3 separate regions of the Homo sapiens genome follow, and regions 1 and 3 are each linked to region 2. The links are contacts of gene promoters, found by promoter capture Hi-C in blood cells and fetal thymus (Javierre and others, 2016). All regions are on one chromosome and are shown on one strand. The core of a region is centred on a gene start or on the middle of the fragment in contact, and the rest is flanking DNA. Distances in the headings are between cores, read along the strand shown. Region 1 overlaps RAB5A (RAB5A, member RAS oncogene family). Region 2 holds the start of NKIRAS1 (NFKB inhibitor interacting Ras like 1). Region 3 holds the start of KAT2B (lysine acetyltransferase 2B).

Region 1 (3,295 bases), core at 126-2,625, 4.0 Mb after region 2:
ACAGAGGGATCATACTTTCCTAAAGATGTCTGGCAGGTGGCTAACAGGAAGGCATTCTCCTATAAAGAGATACAGATAACATGTAATGTGAGCAGTACATAATACATGTAATTCTCAAACTAGGTTAGTTGCATGAACAATTTTTTTTTTAAGACGGAGTCTCGCTGAGACACCCAGGCTGGAGTGCAATGGCATGATCTCGGCTCATTGCAACAACCTCCTCCGCCTCCTGGGTTCAAGCGAATCTCCTGCCTCAGCCTCCCAAGTAGCTGGGACTACAGGCGCACGCCACCATGCCTGGCTAATTTTTGTATTTTTAGCAGAGACAGGGTTTCATCACATTGGCAAGCTGGTCTCGAACTCCTGACCTCGTGATCCGCCCGCCTCAGCCTCCCAAAGTGTTGGGATTACAGGTATGAGCTACCGCGCCCAGTCAACAATGTTTTTAAAAATCTGACAAACACCACACCTCAAAAAAACCCCCCAATTATTCCATGTATGGGTGAATCAATGTTAGTACCAATGTAAAATCAACTACTCAAACGTAACATGCCATTAGAATCATCTGGAAAACTTATTAAAACCTAGATTGTTGGTCCCACCCAAATGTTTTGATTCAACACGGGATTCTACATTTTAACAAGTTCCTAGTTAATGCAGCTACTTCTGGAAGTGGGAACGCTCTTTGAGGACCACTGTTCTAAGCTAATGTACAAAAATCACAGAACCAGCAAGAGGAATGTTATTTTCATGTACAGTTCCATCATCTAAACTTTAGAGTTTATAACACATTTTTTGATTAGTGCATACAAAATTGTAACTGTGGTATGAAGCACTTTTCTCAGAAGAGAAAAAAAGGATTGTCTGCTTGCTATTTCACTGCATATTCTAACCACTGAGGATTAATTTGTTTATAAATATCACATAAATGTCTTCTTAAAAATAAGTATTTTTTGAGAGTATTTACTGAAGAGCTACCAAGCCTAGAGATGCAGTACCAAGTAAAGAAGGAAGACAACTCTCTGAGCCTACTGCTCCCTGCTAATCTCTGGGCTAACTTTAGACCAACAATAGAAACATAAATGTCATGCAAACTTTAAACCCATACAAACAAGCTAGAATTCTCTAAATTGCTAAATCTACGGCACGCAATTTCATCAGAAGTGCTATAGGGGTAGGATGCATGAAGTATGGTGAGGCAACAGGGATTCTTTGTTTTGTTTTGTTTTTGAGACAGGGTTCTCACTGTCACCCAGGCTGGAGTGTGGTGGTGCAGTCTCGGCTCACTGTAACCTCCGCCTCTTCAGTTCAAGCAATTCTCCCATTTCAGCCTTCTCAGTAGCTGGGACTACAGGTGTGTGCCACCATGCCCGGTTAATTTTCGTATTTTTTGTAAAGACGGGGTTTTGCTATGTTGGCCAGGCTGGTCTCAAACTCCTGGACTCAAGCGATCTGCCCACCTCAGCTTCCCAAAGTGCTGGGATTACAGATGCAAGCCACCGCACACAGCGCAACAGGAATTCGTAAATCAAGTTATTGTATTTAGGAAGAACCACACAAATTACAGAAGAAATCTTGATATTCTTAATGAATCCAGAATCCACAAATCAAGAGTGTAACATATGATATCCACCTTCGAACACAATCAAATAGAGATTAAAATTTTGAGTGCTTCAGAACAATAACTCATGTTAGGAGATATAAACAGTAAAGTGAAAAATTAAACAGTTGAGGCCAGGCGTGGAGGTTCACGCCTATAATTCCAGCACTTTGGGAGGCCGAGGCAGGTGGATCACTTGAGGTCAGGAGTCTGAGACCAGCCTGGCCAAGATGGCAAAACCCTGTCTCTACTAAAAATACAAAAGTTCACTGGGATTGGTGGTGTGGGCCTGTAATCCCAGCTACTCAGGAGGCTGAGGCAGGAGAACTGCCTGAACCTGGGAAGTAGAGGTTGCAGTCAACCTAGATCACACCACTGCACTCCAACCTGGGCCACGTAGTGAAATTCCGTCTCAAAAAAAATAAACCAACAGTTGAAATGCAAAAGAGTTGGTTGGCTTCATTTTTCAGGTAACTTCTACCACATGACAGTCAAAACAAAAATACGTATTACCTACAAGTTATGGCCCTTTCAGGTTGATCATGAAATAGCTCAAACCTTAAAATTCTTAAATGCTTTACATCTACTCTAGTTCCTAAAGGTGAAGAGCTATGAGTACAGAGCATAAAAGAATAGTGTCCACAGCTATAACCATAATGGTACTGTCATACCTCCTGAATAGTATTCACATGGGGTCAGCACAGTGAAAAAGTATCCAATAAAGATTAACAGAAAGTTGGGCCAGGGGCAGTGGCTCATGCCTGTAATCCCAGCACTTGGAGAGCCCGAGGTAGGCAGATCACTTGAGGCCAGGAGTTCAAGACCAACCCGACCGACATGGTGAAACCCCATCTCTACTAAAAATACAAAAATTGGCCAGGAGTGGTGGCTTGCGCCTGTAGTCCCAGCTACTTGGGGGGCTGAGGCATGAGAATTGCTTGATCCTGGGAAGCGGAGGTTGCAGTGAGCCAGGGCTACACCACTGCACTCCAGCCTGGGCGACAGAGACCTTGTCTCCAAAAAAAAAAAAAAAAAGGATTAACAGAAATTTGGATGCAAATTCCTTTTTGTTTTTAAACAGGAAGCTCTACACATAGAAATGAAAATCTTTATGAAAAATTCATTAATGAAATCTAGACAATCTAACTGGTGTTACATGGAGATTATATAGAGATACACACATATCAGAGATATATTTATGATACACAGGATATGGGGTTACATTTTTCTTTTAAACATCCTTCTTGAGCTATCATTAGGAAAAAATAAACTTAGAAGTGCATTATCCAAAACAAGATAAAAATTCTAATCTTAAGCTCTTGCAAAGCTCCCCAGGAATTAAGTCCTATACTACAGTACTTCAGAGTTTTTATTGTTTTAATAAAATAATAAAGAGAGAGGAGAAGAGTAGCATATAGTAAGTCCCAAACCTACGTGGCCCAGGTTATTTAACCCAGAATGCACATATACTTTGGGAAATGCTTCCATTAACAGTGAAATAAGTGGGTGGACATGATCTAGCAGTCTTTAAACTTTTCCTACTAGATGGGACAGTTAGCTTTGACCAAATCACTTCTGGAGGAAGCAAAGCCTTCTTGAGAAGTAGTATTTCATTATTAAACTGGATATAATGTATTAACAATAACAACAACAACAACAAAATCACACGTGGATGTACTTTCAGGGAAAAAAAAA
Region 2 (3,203 bases), core at 22-2,521:
GGCACACTGTTTATTTTGCTTTAGTCTGAACTCATTCAGATTTGTAACCTTTGACACACTTGCCACTTTAGACAACAGTGCATACAGTAACTGACCAGTGTTGCTAGCTTTTTTCTGCCAAAGCCCTATGCGAAGAAAGACACTGAGGCAGCAGTGTCTTCCTAACAGCTGGTTTCCAACTTTTCTCGAATATAATTTTATCCAAGCATCCACGCAGTCGATCACGTACCTTGCTTGGCCTTGTAGCCCAGTCGGCGCGCTTTATCAGGCCGGGTGGGGCGGGGAGCCCTGTGGAGAGCAGAGAGCTGGCGGTACTGCCAGCAGCGGACCCTCAGAAGAAAGCGCATGACATCAGACTGCTTCTTTCTCCATAGCTCCTGGATGTACTTGTATGCACCCATCTTGGCTTACCTGTGAAATCAAACTGTGTATTAAATATCATCCGCTTTAAGTACAATAAGACGACTGTATCCGTCCATCTTAGTTCCCCAACAAAAACAAGGAAACCGCCGGGAATGAAAATGGCTCTGCACCAACTGCCGGGGACAGCTAGCCCAACCCCCACCACTGCGCCCACGGAGCCGCGTTCAGTCACTTCCGCAACCCCAGCACAGAGCGGTGCTCGGCACGTTTTGGTGGGGCGAATTAACAGAACCAGAACTGAGCACCAAGGGGGCGGGTGGCTGCGGCAGGCGGCGTCCCCAAGGAGGACCTGAAAGGAGATGCCGCTGACATCACAGGACAAGGTACTGCTGCGGCCACCGAGGATTAACTCTCGAGGAAAATGCATCTACCCCACCCAACCAGCAGCCTCACTTTAGGCTGCCTTGTCCCGGGCGCCCCATTCGTCAGCCCCACGCCTCCTCCAGGATCCGGGCCCAGCTCGAATTCGCGCCGCCATCACATCTTCGCTCAACCCGCCCCGGGGGCCGCCTCTCCACCCCTTTGCTGTCCCGCATCCTGACCAAACTCTGGCCGCACAGGAGGGAGACCTATCTCCGAGGACGCAGGGTCCCCGGACCTGGATGGCTGAAGAGGAAGACGATCAAAGGCGGATGGAAGAGCAAAGATCCTCAACGCAGCCTACCTGATGGCTGCCGCCAGACGGAAAGGAAAGAGCTGTACTCCCACAATGCCTTTTGGGCTCCTCCCCCACCTCAGCCACCCTCTTTCCGGTGGAAAGCTGCGGCCTCCCAGAGCGTCATGGGACATGTAGTTCCGGCATCGCGCCTGGTGGCGGAGTTCTGCCGAGTGGGGCGCCGCGGCCGCTATTGTCCCGCCCCCTGCTCCGCAAGATTCGAGCCTGAGCGGCCTGGGCGTCTCGAGAGGTGAGAGAGTTGGCGGCGAGGTCTCGGCGGCTAAGCGAGCGTCGGCGACTGTCTCTCCGCGAGAGGAGGCAAGTTGGGGTCCAGGCTCCAAAGCCGGTGGCCGCGTACCGCGGTGGAGCCGCTGTCTTTGAGGTCTGAGGAGAGAACAGGTTTGTTTCACGCACCGCGGGCTCTCCCCCTGCGGAGTCTCTGCGTCTCCGCGTCTCCGCGCTGCGCTGTCCCTCTCTGGCCACCGCACGACGGGCGCAGAAATCTGGGCCCCAGAGCTGCGCTGAGAGATCCCCCGACGCTTCCCCAGCCTCCCAGGGAGGCCTTCGCGGAGTCGGGGCGTCGCGGGTCGGGGCGCTCGCTGTGTCCCTTCAGCTCCAGACTGCGTGAAGCTCCTCCAGCAGGCCCCAGCGCCCAGGGATTTTGTCCTAAAAAAGGGTCATGGAGTGGGTGGATTGCGGGCGGCCCGGCGCTTTTTCTGCATACGGATTTCGTCCCAAATTTGCTAACATGAGAACCACAGTTTTTCAGAAGAGCAGAATGTTTATTTGCCAAGACCTGTTTGGCAGGTGTGAATGTTTTAGAGAAGAAATGCCGAGAAAATGCTGGCATTTTGCGTTGCGGGTTTTTTTTTAAATTGAGAAATAGGTTACTGGCTTACTTTGTTTCTCCAGAATATTTTCACTTGGCTTTAATTTAAGTCATGTGGCTTTAATTTCCTTCCAGATTATGCGTTCAGATGTGGCAAAGGCTTAAGAGAATCATTATCTCTTAATCGTAGCGGTTTTGATTATCTTTTTTCCCACATCATATTTTTCTTTCTTTCTTTTTAAATCACAGCTTTACGTTTTTAAGAGTCTCTATCTGGTTCATTGATTGATTCAACAAATATTTATTAAGTGTCTAATATGTGCCAGGCATAGTTGCTGGGGATGCAGCAGGAAACAACGCAGAATTTTTGGCCTTCTTGGAAATGGGCAGTAAGCAGAAGTAAGCTGTGTTTTGGGTTTGGTGGTAAATGCTAAGGAAAAAAGATAAGGGGAGGGAAGTGATGAGGGAGTGTTAGCGGCTGAGGGTTGCAATTTGGAATGGAGTGTCCAGGTTAAGTCTTTGAGAGAAGGTAACATTTAAGAAAGGACTTCAAGGATAGGAGTCTGGGAGTAAGAGTAGGGGTCTGATTCAGGCAGAGGGAGAAGAGCCATGACTGGAGCATGCAAGATTAATAGAGGAACAGCAGGGAAGCAGTGTGGCTGAAATTCACAGTAGGGGAAAGTGGGAAATGACGTCGGAGAGGTGAAGGTTCTCACATGGACTTTGGATTTCATTGGCAGATTTTGAACAGAAGGATGACTTCATATGGCGTACATTTTAAAAAGATAACTCGGATTGCTCCTTTTGAGGCTAAAAGGAGAGAAAAAATGGAAGCAGAGAGACTGCTTAGGAAATTGTGTTAGTCTTCCATTGCTCCTGTAACAAATTTCAGCAACTTTGTTGGTTAATAATACAAATTTACCGTCTTTTAGTTTGTACATCAGACTAGGTCTGTAAATCTGTAAATATCACCAAGCTAAAACCAAAGTCAGTAGGGCTGTGTTCCTTCTGGAGGTACTAGGGGAGAGTACATTTATTTCCTTGGCTTTTCCACCTTATGAAGCCTGCCTGAATTCCTTGGCTCCTGACTGCTTCCTTCATCTTCACAGCCAGCAAAGGAGCATCTTCCAATTACACCTTCTGTCCTCTCCAGCACTCCTGTGTGTCTCTTATAAAGACACTTGTGATTACACTGGGCCCACCTAGATAATTCAGGATAATATCTTCGTATGGAAGTTCTTAATTTAATCACCCCCGCAAAATTCTTGTATGAGTATGTAAAGTAAACATATTCAC
Region 3 (2,948 bases), core at 423-2,922, 3.9 Mb after region 2:
TGATTCATAATCAGCATTTTAACCAGCTTCCCCAGGAGATTCCCATGCACATTAAAGTTTGAGGAGCACTGGGCTAGATCCTACATTCACTCAACAAATATTTATTGAACCAGTGTAGGATACAGAGGTGCTTAACATAAACCTGAGCATATGGTGTGGAAAAAGAGCAAGCATAGACATTCCATTGTGACTGAGAAGCTCCTGCAAGTACCAAGAAGAGTATAACCTAGATGTTCTAGTAGAATAAATTATAGTTATGTCAAAATTCAGAAGTGGTCACTGCAGCTTGGTTGTGACAATCGGGAATCTGGAATCTGGGAACTTGACCCTCTTTACAGCAGGCAGGAAGAATACAGGGAGGTGTGAGTGTGTGTGAGTGTGTCTCTTCCCTGCCTCAGCCACAGGCCGCAGGAGCTGACAAGGCCAAGTCCCCGCCCCCCTCAGCTGTCACCCTGTCAAAACAAAGCCGCTGCTGACAGCGCAGGGCCAGCCTGCCCCGCGGCCTCGGGCAATCCTCCCACCTCGGGAACACAGCCTCCACATCTGGATCTGCAGCTGGAGGTGACAGGGTGCCTAAACTGGCATGGAGAGTGGGTAGCAAGAAATGGGTGTCCTCAAACTGAGCAGTAGCGCCCGCCGCGCTGGGCTGTCACTTTGCCAAATCCTGTTTACACCTCGAGCAGCTGGGACAGCGTTTTAACTAAACAAGTAATAATACAATAATGACAGGGCTGTCACCGCGCGCGGCAGTGCCTCCGCCCCCAGCCGAGGGCGCCAGGCACCACAAGACCCTCGCCTCGGACTCTGCCCACCTTCCCACCCCGCGCTTTCCTCCCCTTCGCTTTCCCAAAGCGCCAGGAGTCCGGGAGTCTTCTCCACCCCCACTCCTTGCACCCAGTTCCTCCCAGTGGGACACAGGAAGGGATCGATTGCAGAAGGGACCACTCAGTCCCCCAAAAGATTTTTCCTTGCCCCTGGGTCACCCGCCACATGGAGAGCACCGCTCCACTCCCGGGAAAGTGACTCCAGCGAGCTCCTACAGAGCAACAAAACCCCAAGGTAGCCCGGGAGCTCGGATGCCGAAGCTACTCCTTTCAAGCGGAAGGAATGAAGGGCTCTCCGTCTTAGTGATCCCCCTTCTTCAAACCCAGCAGGACTCTTATCCAAGAAGAAGCTAATTGGGCGCGGGCGACAAGAGCACTTCCGCGGTGCAGCGGCCCCAGGCGGGAGGCGAGAGGCAGGAGGCGGGAGGCGGAGGTGGAAGCGGGAGGGGGAGGGGGGTCCCGCGGGCTGGGCCCCTAGCACCCATCCGCGGTCCGAGAGCGGCGAGCGCGTACCTTGCAGGCGGAGTACACTCCGAGTTTCTCCAGTTTCTTGGCCCGCGGAGCGGAGCGTAGTTGCGCTTTCTTCACGGCGATTCGGGCCGAGCCACCGCCTCCCGGTCCTTCGGCCGTGCCCGCTGCAGCCACTGCCGTCGCCGGACCGCAGGCGCCCGAGCCCCCGGCGGCAGCGGCGCAGGGGGAGCCCTGCGGGGGCGCGGGCGGAAGCGCCGCAGGCTGCGGGGGCAGCGCCCCGGGCCCGGCCCCTGCCCCGGCTCCTGCCCCGCAGCCGCCCGGCCCGGCCCCGCCAGCCTCGGACATGCCGCCCCGGAGCACGGCAGGAGGCGCCGAGTGTCAGGCGCCGCCGCCGCCGCCAGGGTCTCCCTCTCGGGCTCTGGTAGTCGGGAGAGCGAGACCCTCCCCCCACGCCCTCCCGCCCCCTTCGCCCACCCCCCTCCCCGCCCCCGCCCTCCCCCTAGCGCGCCGCTCGCCCGGCTCGCTCTGGCCGGGCCCCGCGCGCTGATGGTGGTGGCGGCGGCGGCAGCGGCGGCAGCTGCTCCCCCAGGAGGGAGGGGACTAGCGGCTCCGCTGCCGCTGCCGCCGCCGCCACAGCACACGCCCTCCCTTGGTTCTCCTGCCCGGGACTCTGCTCCGCGCCCTGGCTGCGGACATGTTCCTCGGGACTGCGGACTAGGTGTGCGTGCCGGCGGCTGCCAGCCTCACGGTGTCTGCCAGCGCTGGGAGGCCCCCCACGGCCTCTTTTCCGCTGCCCGCGGGGTTTGCACCCCCCACCCCAGTGCTTCGACACCTACCGCTCGCCCGCCAGGGGGCGAGGCCAATCCCTGGGTGTGGGTGAGGGTGGGGACGAGGGTGGGGGTAGGGGCCTGGAGCCCAGGCACCTGCTGGCCACCTCCCCCCTCCGCGGCCCCCCATCCGACCCCCGCACGCCTGCACCAGTGGGAGGGGGCAGCCTCTCAATCATTTGTCCTTTCACTCTCTTCCACCCTGTCTCTGACAGAGAGACAACTTCCTCCACCCTAGCGGGAGCCAGAGGAAAAAAAATATATTTTTGAAAAGTACCCGTCCATGCTAATCTTTTTCTTTGTTGCTAATTCACCAAAATAAAGACGTGATGTTCTCCCTTTCTCTTTTTAAATACTTTCTGTCAAACTATTTTTTAATATAATTAACACTTTCTTCCCATAGCAATTTCTGGGTCAAATCTGCCGGAGGAGGGGAAAAAAACTTACTATTCTCTGTAATTTTTGTTTGAAAGTGCTGGTTGCTAAAAGAAAGATTGTCTAAAAAGCATTGTCAAAAACTATGCAGTGGAAAAAGTTTGAATACAAAAAGTTTGTTAACAGGATTCGTTTCTGGGTGGTGGTTCTATAACGTTACGTAGTTTTCAAAATTGTGCCACCGCGTGCGTATTAACCAGGAAAAAGATATAAGCATAATTCAAAAGAATAAATATCGATTTTGGCCTCAAACTTTAAAAAGAAAAAAAAAACCCTCAACTCAGTGTTTCCAACTCTTGTTGAAAACTGTTGTTTTCACTGTTGATGACTGTGGAGCATACAAGTCAGTGCTGCGTTTGAAAGTGGTGTACCGTTGATCGCCTTCTTAAGC

Evidence for each region. Contacts are between HindIII fragments. The CHiCAGO score rates a contact against its expected background, and 5 or more counts as called.
Region 1: a fragment that was not itself captured here is called in contact with the fragment with the promoter of NKIRAS1 in region 2 in 1 of 17 cell types (activated CD4 T cells); the score reaches 5.5 in activated CD4 T cells.
Region 3: the fragment with the promoter of KAT2B here is called in contact with the fragment with the promoter of NKIRAS1 in region 2 in 2 of 17 cell types (naive CD8 T cells and total CD4 T cells); the score reaches 7.5 in naive CD8 T cells.

What each region holds. Positions count from the first base shown.
Region 1 is chr3:19,952,752-19,956,046 of GRCh38, reverse strand. All of the region lies in intron 2 of RAB5A (RAB5A, member RAS oncogene family), which reads right to left. Among named protein-coding and RNA genes, the nearest start is that of RAB5A, 7.3 kb to the right of the region's middle. The HindIII fragment of the contact is 6,610 bases long and covers 1-3,295 here.
Region 2 is chr3:23,915,058-23,918,260 of GRCh38, reverse strand. It overlaps NKIRAS1 (NFKB inhibitor interacting Ras like 1), which reads left to right and starts at 1,271. Exons shown (of 5, transcript NM_020345.4): 1 at 1,271-1,477. RPL15 (ribosomal protein L15) reads right to left here and starts at 1,129. Exons shown (of 4, transcript NM_002948.5): 1 at 1,088-1,129; 2 at 230-411. The coding sequence starts at 401. RefSeq lists enhancers at 388-487, 417-1,616, 868-1,667. The HindIII fragment of the contact is 19,179 bases long and covers 1-3,203 here.
Region 3 is chr3:20,039,170-20,042,117 of GRCh38, reverse strand. It overlaps KAT2B (lysine acetyltransferase 2B), which reads right to left and starts at 1,672. Exons shown (of 18, transcript NM_003884.5): 1 at 1,338-1,672. The coding sequence starts at 1,640. RefSeq lists enhancers at 171-360, 1,077-2,047 and silencers at 1,211-1,270, 1,471-1,600, 1,771-2,410. The HindIII fragment of the contact is 5,734 bases long and covers 1-2,948 here.